4 separate regions of the Homo sapiens genome follow, and all the other regions are linked to region 3. Evidence: promoter capture Hi-C in human tissues and cell types (Jung and others, 2019). All regions are on one chromosome and are shown on one strand. Each heading gives the region's core, a stretch centred on a gene start or on the middle of the fragment in contact. The rest is flanking DNA. Distances are from core to core; before and after follow the strand shown. Region 1 overlaps LOC105375187 (a long non-coding RNA gene). Region 2 has its middle 21 kb from the start of CCDC126. Region 3 holds the start of FAM221A (family with sequence similarity 221 member A). Region 4 has its middle 28 kb from the start of TRA2A.

What was found. The method cuts DNA at HindIII sites, captures the fragments that hold promoters and counts their contacts. A contact is called where the count stands out against the background at its distance.
Region 1: a fragment that was not itself captured here is called in contact with the fragment with the promoter of FAM221A in region 3 in 6 of the 25 tissues and cell types used here (H1 embryonic stem cells, aorta, dorsolateral prefrontal cortex and 3 more).
Region 2: a contact is called between a fragment that was not itself captured here and the fragment with the promoter of FAM221A in region 3, in 5 of the 25 tissues and cell types used here (H1 embryonic stem cells, adrenal gland, hippocampus and 2 more).
Region 4: a fragment that was not itself captured here is called in contact with the fragment with the promoter of FAM221A in region 3 in 3 of the 25 tissues and cell types used here (adrenal gland, neural progenitor cells and thymus).

The regions. Positions count from the first base shown.
Region 1 is chr7:23,591,065-23,594,692 of GRCh38, forward strand. All of the region lies in intron 1 of LOC105375187 (a long non-coding RNA gene), which reads right to left. Among named protein-coding and RNA genes, the nearest start is that of CCDC126, 4.5 kb to the right of the region's middle. RefSeq lists an enhancer at 2,678-2,727. The HindIII fragment of the contact is 6,372 bases long and covers 1-3,628 here.
Region 2 is chr7:23,574,965-23,578,589 of GRCh38, forward strand. No RefSeq gene overlaps it. Among named protein-coding and RNA genes, the nearest start is that of CCDC126, 21 kb to the right of the region's middle. The HindIII fragment of the contact is 4,271 bases long and covers 1-3,625 here.
Region 3 is chr7:23,678,917-23,682,103 of GRCh38, forward strand. It overlaps FAM221A (family with sequence similarity 221 member A), which reads left to right and starts at 1,283. Exons shown (of 7, transcript NM_199136.5): 1 at 1,283-1,367. The coding sequence starts at 1,303. RefSeq lists a silencer at 1,217-1,506 and an enhancer at 1,837-2,086. The HindIII fragment of the contact is 14,044 bases long and covers 1-3,187 here.
Region 4 is chr7:23,558,759-23,561,944 of GRCh38, forward strand. No RefSeq gene overlaps it. Among named protein-coding and RNA genes, the nearest start is that of TRA2A, 28 kb to the left of the region's middle. The HindIII fragment of the contact is 5,117 bases long and covers 1-3,186 here.

The DNA.
Region 1 (3,628 bases), core at 1,092-3,591, 87 kb before region 3:
ATCTTTTTCTGTTTTAGCCATTCTGGTGGGTGGCGTGTTATTCTCTCATTGTGATTTAAATTTTCTTATCCTCATATGAGGTTGATGCTTTTTCATATGTTTATCGGTTATTTGGATTTCTTCCTTAGTTAAGAGCCTGTTCAGCTCTTTTTCTTTTTTTTTTTTTGAGACCAAGTCTCACTCTGTCGCCCAAGCTGGAGTTGGAGCTCAGTGGTGTGATCTCAGCTCACTACAACCTCCGCCTCCAGGGTTCAAGTGATTCTCCTGTCTCGCCCTCCCGAGTAGCTGGGACTACAGGTGCGTGCCACCACACCCGGCTGATTTTTTTTATTTTTAGTAGAGACGGGGTTTCACCATGTTAGCCAGGATGGTCTCAATCTCCTGACCTCGTGATCCGCCCGCCTCGGCCTCCCAAAGTGCTGGGATTACAGGTGTGAGCCACCGCGCCCGGCCAGCTCTTTTTCTTTTTCTTTTCTTTTCTTTCTTTCTTTTTTGAGACAGTGTCTTGCTCTGTCGTACAGGCTGGAGTGCAGTGGCGTGATCTCTGCTTACTGCAACCTTGGCTTCAGGCATGCATCAGCACATTGGGCTAGTTTTTGTATTTTTAGTAGAGACAGGGTTTCGCCATGTTGCCCAGGCTGGTCTTGAACTCCCGGCCTCAAGTGATTTGCCCACCTCGGCCTCCCAAAATGCTGGGATTACAGGTGTGAGCCACCGTGCTCGGCCTGAACTCTTTTTCTTAATGATTATAGTTCTTTATATATTCTAGATACAAGACCTTTCTTGGTTATACATGTTGCAAATTTCTTTCTTTCTCTCTCTCTTTCTTTTTGATGGAGTTTCGCTCTTATCACCCAGGCTGGAGTACAATGGCGCGACCTCGGCTTACTGCAACCTTCGCCTCCCGGGTTCAAGCAATTCTCCTGCCTCAGCCTTCTGAGTAGCTGGGATTACAGGTGCCCGCCACCACACCCGGTTAATTTCTGTATTTTTAGTAGAGACAGGCTTTCACTATGTTGTCCAGGCTGGTCTCAAACTCCTGGCCTCAGGTGATCCACCCGCTTTGGCCTCCCAAAATGCTGGGGTTATAGGAGTGAGCCACTGCATCTGGCCCATATTGTAAATTTCTTAATCATCTGTGAGGCTTGCCTTTTAACTCTTTTAATGGTGTAATTTGATAAAACCAAGTCTTAATGTTTTTTTTTGTTTTTGTTTTGTTTTGTTTTGTTTTGTTTTGTTTTGAGACAGAATCTCGCTCAGTCACCAGGTTGGAGTGCAATGGCGCGATCTCAGCTCACTGCAACCTCTGCCTCCCGGGTTCAAGCAATTCTCCTGCCTTAGCCTCCTGAGTAGCTGGGATTACAGGCATGCACCACCTTGCCCAGCTAATTTTTGTATTTTTGTAGAGATGGGGTTTCACCATGTTGGCCAGCTGGTCTTGAACTCCTGACCTCAGGTGATCCGCCTGCCTCAGCCTCCCTAAATGCTGGGATTACAGGCGTGAGCCATTGAGCCTGGCTGTCTTAATGTTAATGTGGTCAAATTTACCTATTTTCCTATTATAGGTAGTGCTTTTTGGATTCGTTTAAAAAGTCTGTCCCCTTACCCTTGAGATCAATATACTGTTTTATTATCTTTAAAAACAATAAAAGCATTATTTCTTTTTTTTCCTTCTCACTTTAAAGTCTGCAGATAGATAGCTTCATTCTTCTGCCTTTAAAATTTATGTTTCAGCTGGGCATCATGACTCACTCCTGTAATCCAGCACTTTGGGAGGCCGAGGCAGGAGTTTGAGACCAGCCTGGACAACACAGCAAGATCCCGTCTCTTAAAAAAAATTACTTGGGCTTGGTGGCACATGCTGGTAGTCCTAGCTGCTTGGGAGGGTTGCTTGAGCCCGGGAGTTTGAGGCTGCAGTAAGCTATGATCACAGCACTACACTTCAGTCTGGGCAACAAAGCGAGACCCTGTCTCTTAAAAATAAAAAAAGTGTCTGTTAGTTACCTGAAATTGACTTTTGTGTATAATGTGAAGAGTCCAATTTCATTTCTTTTCCAAATAGAGCACTATTTGTTCCAGTGCCATTCAATCATTGAAAAGTGTTCTTTAGGTGTTGCTTTGCATTGCCAGGCAGTCTCAAACTCCTGGGCCCAAGTGATCCTCCTGTCTCAGCCTCCCAAATAGCTGGGGCTACAGGTGTGCACCACCACACCCAGGTCACTGGGCTCTCTATTCTGTATTACTGGTAGATTTGTCTATTTTTGATCTCCTTCCACACTGCCTTAATTACTATGAAAGTTGACAGTATCAAAATGGAATCATTTGTGTAAAAATTCCCCAAAGACCCTGACAAATACAGCCAGGAAACCTAAGAAGAGAGCATTCTCACACTTGCATGCCTGATAACAAAATTACCACAGAAGACTCTGGAAAATCACAACATTAACAATGGTCATTGTAACCTTACACAAAACGTACTTCTATGAGGATATCTGCTCAGCAATTGTCTGTCTAACCTCAGACTCGAGCCACCCTTGTTATTATAGATTCTTGTAGCCAAGGATAATTTCAAAACAATTATGTAATGCCCCTAATTTTTCCTGTAAAAACCTTTGTCTTCCTTTACCTCCTTGAATACACACATAGTTTACTGTGGCATGTGTATTCCCATTGCAATGCCCTATTCCCAAATAAACATATTTTTCTTTTAGAGAGCCTCTCTCTGTTGTTTAGGTTGACACAAATGGTGCCAGAAACAGGACCTGAAAAAAGATCACTATCACAAGGAACTGACAGTTCTTGAATCTGGTGCAGTACTCATTTCAGTTCTCTGCTTCCATGGCTCACTTTTTCTGCCCTGATGAGTCTTCTCTAAGACCACGCCCCCTTCTTTATGGTAGAAGCTCTTGACTTTATTTGGGGTCTGATTTGAATAAGGCAGCCCTAAATAAAGGACTTTACATCCCTCCTGGGATTAAACAAAGACTTTTTGTATTTTCTGGGAAGTCTTTTCTGATTTCTACAGAATTTCCATTCTGTCTGTGAGGCATATCTTTTCTGATGAATTTACTTTTGGTCTGTGTGCCTACTTTAATATTTTGTCTGATCCACATGCCTGGGTTAAAATTTTTATGAACTTTCTTGGTTTTATTTTGGTTACATGCAACTTTTTTGTTGTTCTTTTCCCTTTATGTTGCTCTTTTCCCTTGCTTGTTTCTGAAAATCTTCTGAGAGCAAAAATAAACATTCTTTTAGAATGGACACATTCTAAATGATGGACACAGGATGGCTAAGTAAAAGCCACTAGAGTGGTTGCTACCATCAAATACATTGGTCCAAACTTATGACATTCTGACAAGATTGATAATTTTCTTTGCTCTTGAGAGATTGATAAGTAATGTAATGGGGTTTTCTTAATTTTTCTTTCTTTCTTTTTTTTTTTAAGAAACAGAGTCTCACTCTGTCTCCCTGGCTGGAGTTCAGTGATGCAATCATAGATCATTGCAGCCTTGAACCCCTAGGCTCAAGTAGCTAGGACTACAGGTACACGCCACCATGCCCAGCTACTTTTTTTGTTTTGTTTTGTTTTGAAGAGACGGTGTTTCACTATGTTGCTCAGGCTGTCTCA
Region 2 (3,625 bases), core at 449-2,948, 100 kb before region 3:
CTGTTCATGGCATGTCTAGTCTTTTGCCTTAGGCTGGCCCCAGAGACTTTGGCCAAGTTGCATTCAGAACATGTAGGCCAGGGCCAGGCATGGTGATTCATGCCTGTAATCCCAGCACTTTGGGAGACCCAGGTGGGTGGATCACTGGAGGTCAGGGGTTCGAGACCAGCCTGGCCAACATGGTGAAACCTCATCTCTACTAAGCATACAAGAATTAGGTGGGCATGGTGGTGCATGCCTGTAATCCCAGCTACCTGGGAGGCTGAGTCAGGAGAATTGCTTGAACCCAGGAGGTAGAGGTTGCAGTGAGCCGAGATCGTGCCACTGCACTCTAGCCTGGGTGACAGAGTGAGACTCTGTCTCAAAATAAAACAAAAACATCTAGGCCAGGCCTGTGTTATGAAATAGCAAGAGTTCAGGGGACTGTGTGTGCTCTACCAGTAAATCCTGTTATAGATGCACATATGGCACTAGTAGTGTGTGTCTGTAACTTTGTGATATCCTCCACCCCAAGCACAATAAAGCCTACAATAAAGGCCTTGCTAAAATAAAGTATACATGCTATAATTTTAGCCAAAAATCCAGAAACATTCTTGAAATCACTTATGCCACTTCGAATTAGTTGGATGTTAATCAGCCAATAGCAATGATATTCTCTGGATCAAATCAAAGACTAAATACACTATTCTTTTTTTTTTTTTCTTTTCTTGACACAGGGTCTCGCTCTGTCACCCAGACTGGAATGCAGTGGCACGGTTTTAGCTCACTACAGTCTCCACCGCCAGGTTCAGGCGATTCTCATGCCTCAGCCTCCCCAGTAGCAGGGATTACAGGTGCATGCCAGAATGCCCAGCTAATTTTTGTATTTTTAGTAGAGACAGGGTTTCGCCATGTTGGCCAGGCTGGTCTCGAACTCCTGGCTTCAAGTGATCCACCTGCCTTGGCCTCCCAAAGTGCTGGGATTACAGGCCACCGTGCCTGGCCTAAATATAGTATTCTTGATCTGCCCAAACACTGAACACCCTGATGAAGTATAAACAAAATCACTTTTGAACACAGGAGGAAAATGTTTATTAAATGTTGTTAACGTAATTGGATTTAATTTAGACAAGATATACAATGCACTAGAAAAGTTAAACAAAACAAAAGAAGATCTTTAAGCAAAGAGCAATTTGTGAGCTTTGTGGGAGAATGAAATTTATTTTGAAGTTGCACTAGTCACAGTTATTTGGTATTACTATTTCTAATGTCATTAATTCCTATTCATTGCTATTACTAATGTTAGCAAAGCTTTAGCAAAAAACCTTACATATCCAAGTTTCACTTTTGAGAAAATATTTTTTAAATTTTAGAGAAAATAGTTCTTTTTTTTCTGAGTCTGTTTCTAGGGAAGAGAAAATAGTTCTAAAACAAAGTATACTGAACAAGATGACATTCAAATAAAATATGCAGAAATTAGAGCAAAGAAACAGAAAAGTTTATATAAATTTCATAAATGAGATGATTCATGTACAAATAACCATCAAACATTTCCATAAAGCATGCTTTCTAGATATGATAGATTGAAGAGACATTTAAACAAATTGATTAGCATACTCCCAATTTTAGTTTTTTTTGTAATGCCCCAGCATTAAAAACTTTGAAACAACTTAATAAATATTCTCCTTCTTTTTTTTTTTTCTGAGACAGAGTCTCACTCTGTTGCCCAGGCTGTAGTACAGTGATGCGGTCTTAGCTCACAGCAACCTCCACCTTCTGGGTTCAAATGATTCTCCTGCCTCAGCCTCCTGAGTAGCTGGGACTACAGGAACAAGCCACCATTCCTGGCTAATTTTTGTATTTTTGGTAGAGATGGGGTTTCACCATGTTGGCCAGGCTGGTCTTGAACTGACCTCAGGTGATCCACCCGCCTCAGCCCCCCAAAGTGTTGGGATTACAGGTGTGAGCCATCATGCCCGGCCAGAATTTAATATTCTATGGATATATTGTTTTTAAAGAGATAATAGGCCAGGCATGGTGCTTCACGCCTGTAATCCCAGCACTTTGAAGGCCCAAGGTGGGAAGATTGCTTGAGGCCAGGAGTTCGAGACCAGCCTCGGCAAAATAGCCAGACCTCCGTCTCTAATTTTTTTAAAAAATAAGAAAAAGAAAATTGCAATATAACTGAAAGCAATTTGTATAGTAAAATTAAAATATTTGCAATATTTTTATTATAATAATTTATTATATGCATTACAATAAACAATTAATGGCATCATTTTATTGTCATGGTATATGATGCTAGAGGTAAGACTAGTGCTTACTTTAGGGCCGGGTACAGTGGCTCACATCTGTAATCCCAGCACTTTGGGAGACCGAGGTGGGTGAATTACTTGAATCCACGAGTTTGAGATCAGCCTGGGCAATATGGCCAAACGTTGTTTCTACAAAAAATACAAAGCTGAAGTGGGAGGACGACTTGAGTCCAGGAGGCAGAGGTTGCAGTGAGCTCAGAAAGCACCATTGCACTCCAACGTGGACTACAGAGACCCTGTCTCCAAAAAAAAAAAAAAAAGAATACTGCTTACTTTGTGGGGTACAGAAAGAATAGAAAGGGGCCTGAGAGATCTTACTGGGGAGCTGATCTATTTCTTGATCTGGGTGGTGGGTTTCATGGGCATAAACATGCACAAAGGTATTGAGTTATACACTTAAGCTTTGTGCACTTTACTGTATACAGGTTGTACACCTCAATGTGAATGTTTAAAAATTCATGGTTCTTTTTTTTTTTTTTTTGAGATGGAGTCTTGCTTTGTCGCCCACGCTGGAGTGCAATGGCACAATCTCAGCTCACTGCAACCTCTGCCTCCCGGGTTCAAGCGATTCTTCTGCCTCAGCCTCCCGAGTAGCTGGGATTACATGCATGTGCCACCACGCCCGGCTAATTTTTGTATTTTTAGTAGAAACGGGATTTCACCATGTTGGCCAGGCTGGTCTCCAACTCCTGATGTCAGGTGATCCACCCGCCTCGGGCTCCCAAAGTGGATTACAGGCGTGAGCCACTGTACCCAGACCATGGTTAATTTTTTAATATAAGTATGGCATCAGATGAGTGAAATTTCTCCAAATTAATACAAAAATTGGCCGGGTGCAGTAGCTCATGCCTGTAATCCCAGCACTTTGGGAGGTCGAGGCGGGTGGATCACCTGAGGTCAGGAGTTCGAGACCAGCCTGGCCAACATAGTGAAACCCCCATCTCTATTAAAAACACAAAAATTAGCTGGGCGTGGTGGTGCATGCCTGTAATCTGAGCTACTCAGGAGGCTGAGGCAGGAGAATCACTTGAACCCGGGAGGTGGAGGTTGCAGTGAGCTGAGATGGTACTACTGCACTGCAGCCTGGGTGTTTTAGCAAGACTCTGTCTCAGAAAAAAAATTATATATCTATAACCACTCGAAAACGTGTGTCTGCATTGGTCTTGCTGCCAGTAGAAAAGAAAATAGGGGAAGGTTTTGATTGTTATAGTGATTTTGCTGAAAAAGAAAGGCAAGAAAAATAAAGTTTTAGAATAAATATCTAATTTTTGAATTACATAGGTCTTTAAAACTCATCCAGATGTCATCATCCATCAACAGAAGATGTGGGT
Region 3 (3,187 bases), core at 33-2,532:
ACACACACACACAAAAGCCAGGCGTGGTGGCTAGTGCCTGTAATCCCAGCTACTCAGGAGGCTGAGGCAGGAGAATTGCTTGAACCTAGGAGGCAGAGATTGCAGTGAGTCGAGATCCCGCCACTGCACTCCAGCCTTGGAGACGGAGCAAGACCCCATCTGGGAGGTGTCGGGTGGAAGAGGTAAAATGGACAGCAGCAAACCACACGTGTGATAGGAGAGAATACTGAGCTGAGATCAGTTTCCTAAAATATGAATCCGATTTCAGGATCACTCATTTATCTGACTGTCAAGAACGCCTCTGAACAGGAGGAAGACTTTGGGGAGAGGGTGGGGTTTGTTGAAAGGGTACCGAGAAGGGAGGTGGGTGGTACCCAAACAATTTGTTTACATAATGTTTTATGGACCTGAAATATGTAGAACAGTACTTTGAAACTAAAGTACTGTACTGAAGTTTAATTATTTTTCTTATTGTTTGCATATTCTCCCTCCCAGATACTTTACAGAGGGCGCTAAAGCTGATCCCCTGGGAGCTTCAGAGTTTAATGACTTCGCCTGAAGATTTCCTATTCTTTTCCACAACGTGCTAAGTCAAATTATGGCCAAATTACCAATCGCATGGTAATTCAGCTTCTAAATATATTTTGCAGAGTGTTTCCAAAAGTTAAAAAACAACAACAAAACTTCACCTAAATTGTTTTTACTTGCTTCACCTTAAATCAGTTATTCGGTTCCTTTGAAGAACATGTAGCTTTAGCAACCCCCAAAGTGAACCCAGATACCCAGGACTACTGATTGTTACATCAGAGTTTTTGAAAACGCCAATACTGGAAACAGGCCGACAGTTAAGGAGAGGCAGGCCTCAAACTAAAGCAGAACCTTCTCAAAACTACTTATATTTCAAGAGATGGATTAAGCGAAAAGAGCTGTACAAAGAAATAAGCCATTTTCTATGCGCCTGTTATATGCAAGGCACTGCACTCCCTTGTCACTTGTTAATTTACAAGAAGACTCGCCGGTCCAGGGAAGGGAGAGGGGAATAGGTGCAAGGTTTGTGGAGGGCGGCAAACTGCACTCCATGTGGCGCGAGGCTGCGCTTGCGGAGATCCGGGTTCTGGTGCCTGGCGCCGGCAGCCAGTAGGGGCGCGCGTCCTGCGCAGTTGCCGCGCGCGGCCTCCTCGGGCTTCAGGCCGGGCCAATCAGGAGGCGGGCGGGAGGGGGCGCGGTACCGGGAGGGAACGGGGCGGGTCGGGCTTCGAGGTCAGCTGGTCCGCAGGGAAGCCTTTGGCTTCCCCACCGGCAATGGAGCGGTTGACGTTGCCTCTCGGCGGCGCGGCGGCGGTGGACGAGTACCTGGAGTACCGGAGGTGAGGCTGTGGCTCCGGGCCTGCCCCCCCGCCGCTCCGAGGGGCCAGGATCCCTGGGCTGGGGGCGCGAGCAGGGGCCCGGCGGGCGTCCGCGGGGGTTCCCGGAATCTGTGCCTGGGCTGTTGGGGGAGGCCTAGATGAATTCCAGTTTAGTCTTTGCCTAATTAAATATTGTAGGGCCACGCGGTTCTATGCAGTGATGAGTCTTCCAATAACATTTAAGAGGCCCCTCTGCTCCCTTCCAAGAAGGATGACTAACTCTAGATTGATACAGAGGTCCAGCTGTTTTTTAAATGGCCATTGAAAACAGGCACATCGAGTACTCGGGGCTATAGAAGTTAGCATACATCAAATTAACCCAGTAATTGAGTCAACCGTGAACTTCTGAACGCGCTCCCCACCCCGAGGTGCTGGTTTTAGGAGAAAGGCACCGACTGGTGTTTGGTATTCTGGAGAAACCCCTTCCGAAACTGGAAACGGAGTCGCTCCTTTGGCCTGAGGACGCGGTTCATTGTCCTGGATCCTGACCGAGGCTGGTGCACCTGCAGCGACGCGCTCTTTTTCCGCTTCCTGGGGTTTTTGATCGTCCGGAATCTGGGCGGATGGGAAGTCCTGGAGAGGACCGCCTGAGGACGCGGAGTTGGGGCGGGAGGATGTGTGTGTACAAGCGGAGGGGAGACGCTCCAGGCTCCGCCAGGGAGGCCGGAGCGAGCGACAGGGGCTCCTCTGCGGCATCGTGGGTGGCCCAGATGACCCAGAGGTGTGCGCGCAGACGGCCCCCCAGCTGACTGTTCTCCCCTGCTCTGACTGCCCTGTTTGTGTAGTTTTGGGTAACCCTTAGAACTGCCTGGATATTCTGAGCCAGAAGAATAAGGGCTAGGAGCTTGATGGGGTCAGTTCCCACGCCCGGTTCAGGGTCAGAACAACCACCATCCCGTCCTCTCCCAGAGCAGAGCCGGCTCCTTTAGCCTCCAGTTCTCCAGAGCTTTTGCCTGGGAGCAAGTTGCTGGAGCTGGTGTTGACTGATAACTTGGATATTTAGATATGTGAATTGTGGGCCTCCAGTTGACTCTTGCCTAGCTCCGAACATGTTAGGGCAGACCTATGTATGTAGTTATTTATTTTATTGAGAAATTATTTAGTTATTTATTTTATTGAGACGGGGTCTGACTCTTTCCCAGGCTGGAGTGCAGTGGCGCGATCTCGGCTCACCGCAATCTCCGCTTCCTGGGTTCAAGTGATTCTCCTGCCTCAGCCTCCCGAGTAGCTGGGACTACAGGCGGCCAGCTAATTTTTGTATTTTCTGTAGAGACGGGATTTCACCACGTTGCCCAGGCTGGTCTTGAACTCCTGGACTCAAGCTATCCACCTGCCTCGGCCTCCTAAAGTGTTGGGATTACAGGCCTGGGCCACCGCGCCCGGCTGGGAAATTATTTTTGCAATCGTAAATAACTTGCAACACTTCCCTCTGAAAGAGATTATCAGGTCCTTTACTGACGTCAGAATTTTAGAAAAGTGGGGAAAACAGGACTTGAGTACCTAGATATGAAAAGGTGGGCTGGGAAGGTGGGGTGGGAAGATGAGTCAAAATATGAGTTTAGAAGGAAACAAACTTTCCTTCCGAAGAGTTTTCCTGGATTTGCTCTTGCCTAGGTACTTCGGTGGGAGTCGGTTGGGAGGGGAAGCATGCAGCCTTGTTACTCACACTGTGGGAGGCCCTGACCAGTGTCCTGGCATCACCTGTTAGCTTGTTAGAAAAGCAGAATCTCAGGCCCACTGCAGACCTATTATTATTATTATTATTTAGAGTCTCGCTCTGT
Region 4 (3,186 bases), core at 309-2,808, 120 kb before region 3:
AGTGAAGGCATCTGGTCCTGGGCTTTTCTTTATTGGCAGACTTTTTATTATGGCTTTAATCTTGTTACTTGTTATTGGTCTGTTTAAGTTTTCTATTTCTTCATGATTTGATCCTGGTAGTTTGTATGTGTCCAGGAATATATATATATATTCCTAAGTTGTCCAATTTGTTAGCATGCTGTTGTTTATAACAGTCTTTAATAATCCTTTATGTTTCTGTGGCATCAGTTGTAATGTATTCTTTCTCACCTCAGATTTCATTCATTTTATTTTTATTTATTTGTTTATTTTATTATTATTTTTTAGAGATGGGGTCTTGCTATGCTGCCCAGGCTGGCCTTGAACTTATGGGCTCAAGTGATCCTCCTGCATCAGCCTACCAAGTAGATGGGATGCATGCACCACCACATCTGGCTATTTTTCTTTAATTGATACTAATATTTGTACATATTTATGATGTAACTGATATTTTGATATATGCATAGAATGTGTAATGATCAAGTTAGGGTACTTAAGATATCCTTCACATCAAACATTGATCATTTCTTTGTGTTGGGAACATTTCAAATCTTCCCTTCTTGCAATTTTGAAATATACAATATATTGTTGTTAAACATAGTCACCCTACTGGGCTATTGAACACTACCTACTACCTAACTGTATGTTTGTACCATAACTTATTTTTTTCCTTTTTGAGATGGATTCTCACTCTGTCCCCCAGGCTGGAGTGCAGTGGTACCATCTTGGCTCACTCCAAACCCTGCCTCCTGGATTCAAGCGATTCTCCTGCCTCAGCCTCTGAGTAGCTGAGATTACAGTCGCCTGCCACCACACCCAGCTAATTTTTGTATTTTTAGTAGAGATGGGGTTTCACCATGTTGGCCCGGCTGGTCTAGAACTCCTGACCTCAAGTGATCCACCCACCTCGGCCTCCCAAAGTGCTGGGATTACAGGTGTGAGCCACCATGCCTGGTGTGTTATTTTTTTTTCTTTTCAATAATAACCATTATAACTGGGGTAAGATGTTGTCTTATTATGGTTTTGATTTGTATTTTCCTGATGATAAGTGATGTTGACTTTTTTTTTTTTTTTTTTTTTTGAGGCAGGATCTCACCCAGGCTGGACTGCAGTGGTGCGATGAAAGCTTACTGCAACCTCGACCTCCCACCTCAGCCTCCTAACTGGCTGGGACTACAGGCATGCATCATTACATCCAGCTAATTTTTAAATTTTTTGTAGAGATGGGTCTCACCATGCTGCCCAGGCTTATCTCAAGCTCCCAGCCTCAAGCAGTCCTCCCAACTCAGCCTCCCAAAGTGCTGGGATTACAGGTGTGAGCCACCACACCTGGTCTTATAATGTTTACATTGATTTGCATATGTTGAACCATTGTTGCATCAGCTGGATGAATCCCATGTGATCATGGTATCTGTCTAAATATCTTTTTAACGTGTTTTTGGATTCAATATGATAATATTTTGTTGAGGATTGTTGACTCTATGTTTATCAGAGATCTCAGCCCATAGTCTTTTTTTGTGATGTCCTTGTCTGGTTTTGGTATCAGGGTTATGCTGATCTGACAGGATGAGTTAAAAAGTACCTCCTTCTCTTAGTTTCTTTGGAATAGTTTGGGAAGAATTGGCGTACATTGTTCTGTATACGATTGATACGATTCAGCAGCAATGCCATCTGGTCCTGGACTTTTCTTTGTCGGGAGTTTTTTTAAATTACTGATTCAATCTCATTCCTCATTATTAGTCTGTTTAGGTTTTCTATTTCTTTGTAGTTCAATCTTCGTGGTTGTGTGTCCAAAAATTTTCCATCTCCTTCCATTTCTTAGCATATAGTGGCTTGTTATAGTCTCTAATAATCTTTTGTGTATGTGTGGAATCAGTTGTAATGTCTCCTTTTTTCCCCCAATTTTGATTATTTAGGTCTTCTTCCTTTTTTTTCTTGATTAGTCTAGCCAGGTTTATCAATTTTGTATATCTTTTCAAAAAACCAACGTTTTCTTTCATTGATCCTTTGTATTGTTTTTAAGTCTCTATTTCATTTAATTCTGCTATTTTTTATAGCTTTTGCTTATTTTATTCAATATTATTTGAACTTAATCATTCACAAATTTAACCTATCCTTAAAAGTAGGCATTACTTATTTTAGTATAATCCAATTTGCATAGAAAACAAACCCTTTACATATTCACACTTAGGAAGTACACAGAAAAAAACATGAAAGAATATACATTATTAAATTCAAACACTGGGAACCTTTGGGAGGGTAATAAAGGGAGATCATTTTTTATCCCATTCTATATATTTGAATTTTTACAACGTGTATTTATGGATTACTCACATAAATTTTTTTAAAGAGGTATAATGAGATCCAATTAAACCACACTTTCTAGCCATTATTTGCATATTAATCAAGACTTCTATTATTTCAAGTAGCTCTTAAAGTTTGTGAAATGCTTTCTAATTTCCCCCTCAATTTTGCTTGCTCTAGTCATTTATTTAGTAAACCCTCTTCCTCACTCATAAGTTAATTCCAGTTTTGTCAGAAGTACAACTTAAAGTGGCTCCAGGCTACAGGTAATCCTGTTCAAAATTCAGGAACTAAAGAAATTTGGATGGGTTTTTGGAACTAAAAAAATGTTTAGATAATGTGTTCTATATCCAAACTCATAAATGAATGTATGTGGTATCAAGGAATACTTCGTATTGCTATTTGGGGACTTTTGCATTAATGTTGCCTTTAGGGAAGTGGTTTATAATTCTTGGGTGCCCACTGGAAAAATCTGTGGAACTTTAAAAAAATACATAGATGCTTAGGTTCCATCTTTAAAGATTTTGAGTCTGTGGTTGTAAGGGAAGCAAATATTCTTTAGAAATGCTTTTTCCTAAGAAGAAGAAGAAGAATAAGAAAAAAAGAAATGCTTTTTCCTAAATCTCGATCAGTGATTATATAAATATATGTGTAAAAAAATGACATTACCCAGAGAATGACTGAATACAGAACCTTACGGAATGCAAAAACTAAAAAATTCAGAGTAAAGTTAGGTTTTTTTTGGGAGGAAGGGAACAGAATTGGTTTCTGCTAAACATGTTCAAAAGCACCAAAAAGATTAAAAACAATTAAAAAATACTTATTTTTCCAACAGTGGTGTTTTGCAGTAGATAATCTTTCTCG